Regions from separate parts of the Homo sapiens genome. Here region 2 is linked to region 1. The links are contacts of gene promoters, found by promoter capture Hi-C in blood cells and fetal thymus (Javierre and others, 2016). All regions are on one chromosome and are shown on one strand. Each heading gives the region's core, a stretch centred on a gene start or on the middle of the fragment in contact. The rest is flanking DNA. Distances are from core to core; before and after follow the strand shown.

Region 1 (5,486 bases), core at 1,284-3,783:
TGTGCCACTGCACACCAGCCTGGGCAACAGAGCAAGACTCCGTCTCAAAACAAACAAACAAACAAAAAGCCCTTCACAACTTGGCCGACATCTAACCTTTTTTGCAGTCTGGTCTTCTGCAAAACTCCAGGCCCCAGTATCACTGAACAATTTAGGCCCTCTCCTGCCTCCGTATCTTTACTCTTGCTCTTTCCTTTAGCTGACCCACCTTATTAGACATCTTTGCCTGGATGTGCTACAAACACCTCAAACTAAAAACATTCAAAATGCATTTTTTCCCATGTCACTTCCCTAATTTACCTCTCATACTCTCTATCTGAATGGTACTACCCATTCAGTTCCCTAAGCCAGAAAGCCAGGCAATCGCGCTATTCTTACCTCTTCATTCCCATAATCAGCCTCCAATTCTATGGATTCTATCTTCTTAATATTGCTCACATCTGATGCCTCCTCTCCATTCCCATTTCCACTGTCTTAGTTCAGGCCATGTCTACAGCAAGAGCTTCCAAACACTGTTTTACTTCCCCACAGGGCTGGTCCCCTCCTACTTGACAGAATGAACTTTCTGAAATATAAATCTGACGACATCATTTTCCTGCATAAAACCCTTCAAAGCATCTCCATAGCTTTCAGGGTAAAAATCCAAATTCCTTAGCATGACTTACAATGTCCTCCACATATGACTGACCTGACCACATCTCACTTCCTCCACTTCCCCAGCCATTACTAGAATTCCAGTCACACTGAACTCGTCATGGTCTTTCAGCTGTCCGGTTCTCCAGGTCCTTGCACCTGTAGTAGTCTCTGCCTGGAAATCCCTTTTCCGGATTCCCTATGTAGCTAAATAAATATTTCAAGAGTTAGCCTCCCATTTCCTCCTGGAACCCTGGGCACCTGGCTCAGGTATTTCTCCACTGTGCTCTTGTAGCCCTGTGCTATGCACTATGACACTGTAAGCCATCCCTCATTTACTTGTCTATTTCCTCTCCCACTGTAAACTCCAGAAGAACTGTATTCTTTGCCACAAAGGCTATCTCATTAAAATGTGCCTCATACATATTAAGGTCTTAATAAACGTCTGGTGGGGCCGGGCACGGTGGATCATGCCCGTAATCCCAGCACTTTGGGAGGCCGAGGTGGGGGGATCACCTGAGGTTAGGAGTTCGAGAGCAGCCTGGCCTTCACGGCGAAACCCCATCTCTACTAAAAATACAAATAAATAAATTAAATAAAAGTCTGGTAAATGATAAATGTGCTGATATGCCCCCGGATTTTCTCTTGAAGAGAGAGCCCCACAAAGAGCTTCAACTGACACAGTTCTGATGCTAACCTGTCTCAAATGTTCTCATTCCACTCTTCGAACGCATTCCTATTTATCCTTCAAAATTCATCTTAAAAACTCTGCTTCTTCAGAAGGGCTTTTCCTGAACCCCCTGTTACATACTTTCAGAGCACCCTGTTCTTTCCTAACACTCATCAACATTTATAATTACTTCTTAAACATCCCTGCAAACACTGCTAGCTCCACGCGGGCAGGGTCTACATTGTTTTGTTTTAAAGCTGCATTCCCCGCATCTGGGAAAATGCTGGCACAGAATAAACACAATTTGTTACGCTGAATTTAATCTTGTGGGGTCAGCAGAGATCTCCACTTAAAAGATGAACAAAAGGAGGCTGAAAGAAGTTTAAGGCACCTATGGCCACAGACACTCAGCACTGAGGCCAGACCAAACCTGAGCCGTCTGATTTCAGGTCCAGAAGTACATACCTTCAATGTTAGCCTGGCTTGTCAAAGTAAGAGCAGCAGCCGAGGAGGAAAGGGAGGATATCTGCCTGTAAATACAAGGATGTGCCCGCCTTTCTTTTAAAAACTCCCTAGGCATTTCAAACGGCTCAATTTGGGAGGAGAGAAAAAAAAAAGTTCCACGCAGCGCTGGCCTTTAACCTGCAGCAGCCTGCGGGGCAACACCGACCGGAAGACCATCCCAAGTTAGAGAGGTTCCGAGCAACACGGGAAGAACTGGGGCTGGTTATCTAAGGCACCAGGATCATGATTCCGATTCTTTTCCTCACTCGCTATATATCTCAGACTAGCCTCTTCTCTAGGGATCAATTTACCTATCAGTGCAATGGGAGCATCAACAGGAGACAGGGAAGACTCTCCGATCTCGGAGGTTCCTTCCAGTCAGAGCACCTCAGGAATCAGGCCTCCGCTGAAGCTGATGGGCAGCGCTGCGAAATCGGGCAGAGGGGCCTCCCCGGGGCACCCGGACTCAGCTGCTCACCCCGGCCCCACCTCAAGAGACCGCGCCCAAGAGTCCGGGTCGGCCTGAGGGCCTCAGCCCCGGCCCTCTCGGCAGGGTTCATGACACGCGCGTAGGCCAGAAGGGCCATTAACACCACCAGGGGCCGATGGGCCCCGGAAGGGACCCCAATCCCTACCAAGCTGCACACCCTCACCTCAGAGTTCCGCCTCACCTCCGGACTGCGATCAGCCGCTCTCCGCTTCCGGCAAGAACCGCCCAGCAATCTCCGCGCGACCCACTTCCGGGCCCTCACTGGGCGCGGCGCCCCCACCGGAAATGAGCCGCCGGCTGAAGCGCTAGGCTGGCCCGCGACTGGGCAGGAAGTCTCACCGCCCCGCTCGTGACTCCGCCCCTCTTCGCCACGCCCCGGAGAGAGCGGCCCGGCTCTCACAGAGGGCACTTGGGAAAGAGCCCCGCCCTCAAGGCGGGAGCGACACGGGGAGGGCGGGCTCACAAGAGAGGCCACGCCCTCGTTCCGCTTTACCTACCCGGAATCGCCCCCGAGGCCCGGGCCCAGGAAGGGCAGAAGTCCCTGGCTAAGCTCCTCTCTGGAAAGAACAGAAGAGTGACCAGTTCCTCTGTCAGTTTGGTCTCAATGGCAGAGGCCGGTTCCTTTAAGCTGCAGTCCGTAAAGGGTCTTGGAACGACTGGGGGCCAGGATTCTCTGAGGGCGGGAATCCGGGCGGCCGTCAGCTCTCGGTGGTGATCGAGGCCACGCTCCGCCTGTCTCTGGGCGTGCATACCTCGGTTTCCCCGTTTGTGACGTGGGAAGGCAATTAGTCTGGACATTGTTGTGGGAGGACTTGCGGAGACTGGGCGCAGGGCGTGGGGGTCAGTGAGGGCGCGGTGGGTCAGCCCCAGCCCGGCTGGCAGTCGCGGGGCTGGGAAGGTAGGGAACCCTCCGCTCTCACCCCACTTCCTGTTTGGTCGGTGTGTTCTGTGACCATAGATGGTCAAGTCTGGGGCCGCGCGGAAGCCTCCGCCCTGTGGTTTTGGAGCCCTTCCTCCCGGCGCGCAGGGTGTGGTCCCCGAGAATAAGATGAGCAGAATTAAAGCAGATCCTGCACCCACTCTGCTGAAATCCGGCTTCTGAGGCAGCCTCGCCCAGGGCTGGGTGGGCTCAGGCGGCTGCTACTCGGTTCAGGGGAGGTTACGCACGGTGGCTGCCGCGCGCAGGGGAGGCTTCGCTTCCGTACTCCTTGGGCCGGGAGATCCGATCTTTGTTCCCTCAAGACTCACACTCTCCAACCGGTCATTATCCTCCCACAAAGATTTATTTCTAGAAAAAATTGGCAAGTGCCACAGTTCCCGCCCCTTCAGCTGAACGACTGTGACAGCTCCGTGTTTCAAGTTGAATGCAGGCGTTATGTGCCAGAGTCAATCATTCAACAAATAAAGTTCTTAAAATAACAGCTACCATTTACTGCACGCTGACTACTTGCCAGGCCCATGCTGAGTTCTTCAAGCGTATTTTCATTTACTCCTAATAGCAACTCTCGGTGGTAGGTACCATTATGCCCTCTAGTTTTCAAATGAGGAAGCTGAATAACTTGCCAAGGTCAGAAAGTAACTGTTGAAACTTTGAAGGAAACACATCTGTCTGACTCTAAATCCCATGAGCTTAATTAGCCCCTGTGATAGACCATACTGCAGACATTTGAGGCAGATTTGAGGTGGTGAATGCCTCTGGATCTGGAGACACTGGGTTCCAGTGCTGGCATAGGCCCTCTACTAGGGGTCAGACTTTGGTCAGGTTACTTTGGACGGGTTACTGGGCCTCTTCCTAACTTTATGGCTCCCAGCATGTTTAAAAGAACATGACAACATGAAAAAATATGGTATAAAAGTCATAGTATATTTTAAATATTGACATTTAACTAAAAACACTGTCTCACACACACACAAACTCTAACTTTATTTGGACATAATCTTTGACTCTGCATTTAGTTATTCTAAATCTCTTTCTGGATTAGAGACAGAAGGAACATAGACCATACACGCATTCTAGAGGAAGAGGAGAGAGAAGAGGAAGCAGGAAGGAGAATGAAGAAAGTTTCCTCATCAGGTGGGGAATATTAATGGGGCTGTAATGAGAAACGGAAGCAGTAATGTATGTGAAACCACTTTGTAAAATGCTTCATTATAAAGAATGCACACACGACTTAAGTTACAACCCCTGCCCTAAGGAATGTCCAGTCTTTTAAGAAGTCTAGATCCATGCATTTGTAACTCCAGTAGGAGATGGGAAGATAGTTTAAGAATATCCGTCACATGAAGGGCTGGGCGCGGTGGCTCACACCTGTAATCCCAGCATTTTGGGAGGCCGAGGCGGGCAGATAACGAGGTCAAGAGATCAAGACCAGCCTGGCCAATATGGTGAAACCCCGTCTCTACTAAAAAATACAAAAATTAGCTGGGCGTGGTGGCATGCGCCTGTAGTCCCAGCTATTTGGGAGGCTGAGGCAGGAGAATCGCTTGAACCCGGGAGGCAGAGGTTGCAGTAAGCTGAGATCGTGCTTCTCTACTCTAGCCTGGCGACAGAGTGAGACTCTGTCTCAAAAAAATAAATAAAAGAATATCTGTCACATGTATTTATGCACTGAAAAAAAACTATTGAGCTACATAGTAGCAATTATTGGAAGAGTTCAATAATTGCTATGCTACTTTGTACCAAGCACAACTAGGGATCCAGCAGTGGACAAGTCAGACCCTGTTACTGCTCTCATGGAGCTTACAGTCTATTTTGGAAATGATATTTCCATTTGGAGTGGTCATCAGAAGATACGCTGCCTTCTGTCTTCCAGCTTTTTCCTCCTCGCTGATCTTGCCCCTTGTCCAGTACCCAGTGCTTCATCCATGGTGAGTTCTCATCTAGCACATGTTCAGTGAGTGCCTTGAATTCAGAATAGTCATTTCCTAGGCAGAGATGGACAGATAGATCCTTGCAGAGCAAACATGAATGAACAGTAGTGGAGATGGGAATCTGTGCTGGACTGAGGTGAGAGGTTCCTGCAGGAGAAAAGTAGGAGATAAGGCTGAAGAAAAGGAGGTTGAGCAAACTATGCTAGGCAAGAGAGGTCAAACCTTAATGTGAAAGCGAGGAGGCACTAGTCATACTGTATTTTAGAAATAAAAATCTAGCTACAGTGTAGGGCATGGCCTTCAGTGGGCAACAAAAGA
Region 2 (5,486 bases), core at 889-3,388, 130 kb after region 1:
GGACTGCAACGCACAACACCACATCCAGCTAATACATTTTTTTTTTTTTTTGAGTCAGAGTCTCGATCTGTCGCCCAGGCTGGAGGGCAGTGGCGCGATCTTGGCTCACTGCAAGCTCTGCCTTCTGGGTTGAAGCGATTTTCGTGCCTCAGCCTCCTGAGTAGCTGGGATTACAGGCCTGTGCCACCATGCCCGGCTAATTTTTTGTATTTTTAGTAGAGATGGGTTTTTGTCATGTTGACCAGGCTGGTCTCAAACTCCTGACCTCAGGTGATCCGCCCACCTTGGTCTCCCAGAGTGCTGGGATTACAGGTGTGAGCAACCATGCTGGCCAGCTAATATTTTTGTCTTTTTTTTGTAGAAATGTTACCCATGCTAGTCTCGAACTCCTGGGTTCAAGCAATTTGCCCACCTTGACCTCCCAAAGTGTTGGGATTACAGGCATGAGCCGCTGCACCTGGCCTGAATTGCACACTTTAAATGGTTAAAATGTTGAATTTTACGGCATGTGAATTTTTCCTCAATTTTTAAAAAAAGAAAATGAGGGGGAGGAGACAACAGCAATTGACAGATATATACAAACCTTGTGAAGCTTGAAAGCAGACAGATAAGGGCTGGCTGATTTAGCAAAAGGCCAGAAAAATCAGAAACTAACTGCTTATGGTGGGAGTGGGAGAAGGAGAAGTATCAACAAGGAGCAAGCCCATGAGTGCATCAGAACCCAAGAACAGCTCATCAACTGGAGGCACTGGATATTTCTAAAGGCAGGATGGTAGGATGGGGCTGAAAAGAAGAAGATTGGATGAAAGTAAAAGGAATTAGACTCCTAAATTTTCTCCCTCAACTTCTGTAATCAGGTGACTGCCCTCTTCCTACCTGGCGGGAGACAGGTTGAATTGAGAGGCTGTGGATTTGGGAACACCAGGCACAGCTGAGAACAAGAGTGATGGACTGTACTGAAGTCAGGGAGGGATTAGCTGAACCATAAGATAGATCCCTTCATCTCCTTTCCCCTCTTGGTACCCAGAAGGCTGGCAGCCAGGTTTCTAACCTCGCCCTGGTAGATTAGAGGCCTTCTATATGTGAAAATAGAAAGGTAGGTGGCTCATGCCTGTAATCCCAGCACTTTGGGAGGCTGAGGTGGGTGGATTACCTGAGGTCAGGAGTTCGAGAACAGCCTGGCCAACACGGTGAAACCCCGTCTCTACTAAAAATAAAAAAAATTAGCTGCGGCTGGGTGCAGTGGATCACACCTGTAATCCCAGCACTTTGGAAAGCTGAGGCAGGTGGATCACGAGGTCAGGAGATTGAGACCATCCTGGCTAACACAGTGAAACCCCGTCTCTACTAAAAATACAAAAAAAAAAGAAAATTAGCCGGGCATGGTGGCAGGCGCCTGTAGTCCCAGCTACTTGGGAGGCTGAGGCAGGAGAATGGCGTGACCCTGGGAGGCGGAGCTTGCAGTGAGCCAAGATCGTGCCACTGCACTCCAGCCTGGGCGACTGAGCAAGACTCCGTCTCAAAAAAAAAAAAAATTAGCTGGGCATGGTGGCAGGCGCCTGTAATCCCCAGGTACTTGGGAGGCTGAGGCAGGAGAATAGCTTGAACCCGGAAAGCGGAGGTTGCAGTGAGCCGAGATTGCACCATTGCACTACAGCCTGGGTGACAAGAGTGAAACTCTGTCCCAGAAAAGAAAAGAAGAGAAAAGAAAAGAAGAAAAAAGAAAAGAAAAGAAAAGAAAGGAAAAGAAAAGAAGAAAAGAAAAAAAAGAAAAAGAAAGATGTACTCATACTGACAGTTGAGGAGTCCCCTGCTAGGTACCTGCCTAAAACCCTTTAGTGAAGCTCAGTAATCAAATACCTCCCCACACACACATATAGAGCTTTCAATCAGCTTTTAATGCCTCACTGTTTTGTTTTGTTTTCTTTAACATGTGGTCTCACTATATTGCCCAGGCTGATCTTGAACTCCTGGGCCCAAGCAATCCTCCTGCCTCAGTCTCCCAAGGGATTACATATGCACACCACCATGCCTGGCTCTACTCTGTAATATACATAAACATCTATACCAAGGATTATCGGATGTTTGAGAAAGCCTCTAATGAAACACACAGAGCAAAGTAAGCAAGGGAGAAGTCAGAGAAAACAGGGAGCAGGAAAGACTTTCAAAATTTATAATAAGTATGAAAACTATTATTAATAGCCTCAGAGGAAAATGGGAAAAAGATTGTGTCCATGGAAAAAGAACAGGAAGCTCCAAAAAGGGAACATTTAGGGAACAACAAGAAAAAGAGGTCTTAAAAATTAAAAAATATCAGTCAAAAAATGTTTAAGTTGAGAAAAGGATTGGAAGTTGAGAACATGAATAAAAGGATTGGACGTTTGGCTGGGTGTGGTGGCTCACACTAATAATCCACCTATAATCCCAGCACTTTGGGAGGCTGAGGCAGGTGGATTGCTTAGCTCAGGAGTTTGAGACCAGCCTAGCAAATATAGGGAAACCCTATCTCTATTTTTATTTTAGAAAAAAAAAAGGATTAGAAGTTTGACTCCTAGGAAGTTGAACAGAACACATAAAGGTAGAGATGAGAGAAAAGAAAAGACAAGACAGGAGTTTCAGAGAGGGAGAAGGGAAAAAAAATGGAGGGGAGGAATTTCCCAAAGGAATAATTACAGAGTGAATTGGTTTCCATATTAAAAGATTTAGGGCAGCTGGGTGTGGTGGCGCCTGCCTGTAATCCCAGCACTTTGGGAGGTCAAGGCAGGCAGATCACTTGAAGTCAGGAGTTCAAGACCAGCCTGCCCAATATGGGGACACTCCATCGCTACTAAAAATAACAAAATTAGCCAGGCATGATGATGGGCACCTGTAATCCCAGGTACTTGGGAGGCTGAGGTGGGACAACTGCTTGAACCCAGGAGGTAGAGGTTGCAGTGAGCTGAGATTGTGCCACTGCACTCCAGCCTGGGTGACAGAGCAAGACTCCGTCTCAATTTAAAAAAAATAAATAGCAGGGCATAGTGGATCACGCCTGTAATCCCAACACTTTGGGAGGCTGAGGCAGGCAGATCACGAGGTCAGAAGATCGAGACCATCCTGGCTAACATGGTGAAACCCCGTCTCTACTAAAAATACAAAAAGTTAGCCGGGCGTGGTGATGGGCACCTGTAGTCCCAGCTACTCGGAAGGCTGAGGCAGGAGAATGGCGTGAACCCAGGTGGCAGAGCTTGCAGTGAGCCAAGATTGCGCCACTGCACTCCAGCCTGGGAGACGAGCGAGACTCCATCTAAAAAAAATAAAAATAAAATAAATAAATAAATAAATAAAAAGGCTTAGCGCAAAGAATTCAAAAAGATGCTGCAATGCAATTCTGACACTATCTAGAGTTAGGCCAAACTTCACAAGTTAATGGCACAGTCTCCACAAGACTGCCTTCACTTCAGAAACCAGCTATTAATAGAAGCTCAGGGTTTCCCAGGCCACCCACACTTCTGACCAAATGACTACAAATCTGGGGGTTCCCACTACCTACTTAGGTTCAATAATTCCACAGAACACCAAACTCAGGAAAGCACTAAACTTATAGTTACAGTTTTATTATAGCAAAGGCAATACAAATCAGGACCAGGCAAAAGAAGAGACACAAAAGGCAAGGTCTTGGAGGATCCCAAACTTAAAGCTTCCAGTGTCCTTTTCCCGTGAAGTCAGGATGCATCATCCTCTGGCACATTGATGTGTAACAATACACACAGACTATTATTAACCAGAAAAGCTCACCAGAGCTTCAGTGTCCAGAGTTTTTATTGAGGGTTCATTATGTAGGCACGATTAACTGAATCATTGTCCAGATTATTTAACTAAATCTCCAGCCCTCTTCCCCTGCCCAGAGGTCAGATTGATTATCAAGTGGCTCAAAAGCCCAGCACTCTAATCACATGGTTTGTCTTTCTGGCATGGACAGCCCCTATCATGAGTCATCTTAAACTATCTAGGGGTCCCCCATGGGCCACCTTATTAGCATAAGCTATCAGTGCCTGCCATAAATAACAGACACACCTATTACCTGGGAAATTCCAAGGATTTAGAGGTTACCTCCAAGGAACTGGGGAGAAAGGCCAATAAATTCTTTATTCCAACAGACCCACACCAAGGCACATCATTGAAAACATTTAAAATGCCAGGGACAAAGAATATATCCTAAAAGCTACCAGAGAAACAGGTCACATACAAAGGTTTGTAGATAAAATGACATCAGTCTTCTCAATAGCAATACTGGCTGCTAAGAAACAGAAAAAAAGTACTTTTAGAATTCTCAGGGGAAATTATTTTCTAATCTAATATTCTCTAGCCAGCCAAACCATCAACCAAAGGGTATACCAAAGAAAATTTCAGAAACACAAAGTCTCAAAACTTTTACTTCCCAAGTACCTTTTCTCAAAGCAGCTGCTGGAGGATATGCTCCACCAAAGTGAGGAAGTAAAACGAGAAAGAGGAAGAAACAAGCTCCAGAAAACAGGGGATGCGACACAGGAGAGAAGCAGAGGGAATTTCCAAGATGATGGTAAAGGGAAGTCACAGGATGACAATTGTGAAGCAGGCCAAGAGATCAATAAGTTCAGACTAGAACAGGAAGACAAAGGACTCCAACCAAGATGATTCCTAGAAAAAAAATGTAACTGATAGACTGATTACCTAGTGTGTTTGACCATATGGAGTAATCTTTGTAGCTCTAGTGGGAATGTGTAGGGTTAAATTCATAATAGATATGTAGAAATCTAAGCAAAAGAAAAACTGAGGCAATTTAACACTGAAAAAAAATATTGTATAAGAAAGGAATTATAAACTGGGTACAGTGGCTTAGGCCAGCATTTGGGGAGGCCCAGGCAGGAGGATCACTGAGCCCAGGAGTTCAAGACCAGCCTGGGCAACATAGTCAGACCCTGTATCTACAAAAAAAAAAAGAAAAGAAAAGAAAAAAAAATTTTTAATTAGCCAGGTGTGGTGGTGTGCACCTGCAGTCCTAGCTACTAGGGAGGCTGAGGTAAGAGGATCGCTTGAGCCCAGGAGGCTGAGACTACAGTGAGCCAAAATGGTGCCACTGCACTCAAGCCTGGGCAACAGAGTGAGACCTTGTCTTGAAAAAAGAAAAAAAAAGAAAGTAAAGGAAATTTAGGCTGGCTCTGGAAGCTCTACCTATGAGTATGAGTTAGGCTTGCTCTGCAAGGGCAATTTAAAAAAAGAAAAAGAAAAGAAAAAGAAAAAGGGCCGGGCATGGTGGCTCACGCCTGTAATCCCAGAACTTTGGGAGGCTGAGGTGGGTGGATCACCTGAAGTCAGGAGTTTGAGACCAGCCTGGCCAACATAGTGAAACCCCATCTCTACTAAAAATACAAAAATTAGCCAGGCATGGTGGCGCACACCTGTAGTCTCAGCTACTCAGGAGGCTGAGGCAGAAGAATTGCTTGAACTCAGGAGGTAGAGGTTGC

What was found. Contacts are between HindIII fragments. The CHiCAGO score rates a contact against its expected background, and 5 or more counts as called.
Region 2: a fragment that was not itself captured here is called in contact with the fragment with the promoter of CAP1 in region 1 in 3 of 17 cell types (M0 macrophages, M1 macrophages and M2 macrophages); the score reaches 6.8 in M0 macrophages.

The regions. Positions count from the first base shown.
Region 1 is chr1:40,037,776-40,043,261 of GRCh38, reverse strand. It overlaps CAP1 (cyclase associated actin cytoskeleton regulatory protein 1), which reads right to left and starts at 2,533. Exons shown (of 13, transcript NM_006367.4): 1 at 2,461-2,533. It overlaps LOC105378669 (a long non-coding RNA gene), which reads left to right and starts at 2,816. Exons shown (of 3, transcript XR_001738013.3): 1 at 2,816-4,371; 2 at 5,111-5,165. RefSeq lists enhancers at 2,234-2,323, 2,394-2,593, 2,247-2,881, 2,844-2,913, 2,882-3,515. The HindIII fragment of the contact is 17,502 bases long and covers 1-5,486 here.
Region 2 is chr1:39,906,752-39,912,237 of GRCh38, reverse strand. No RefSeq gene overlaps it. Among named protein-coding and RNA genes, the nearest start is that of MYCL, 7.6 kb to the right of the region's middle. The HindIII fragment of the contact is 3,087 bases long and covers 595-3,681 here.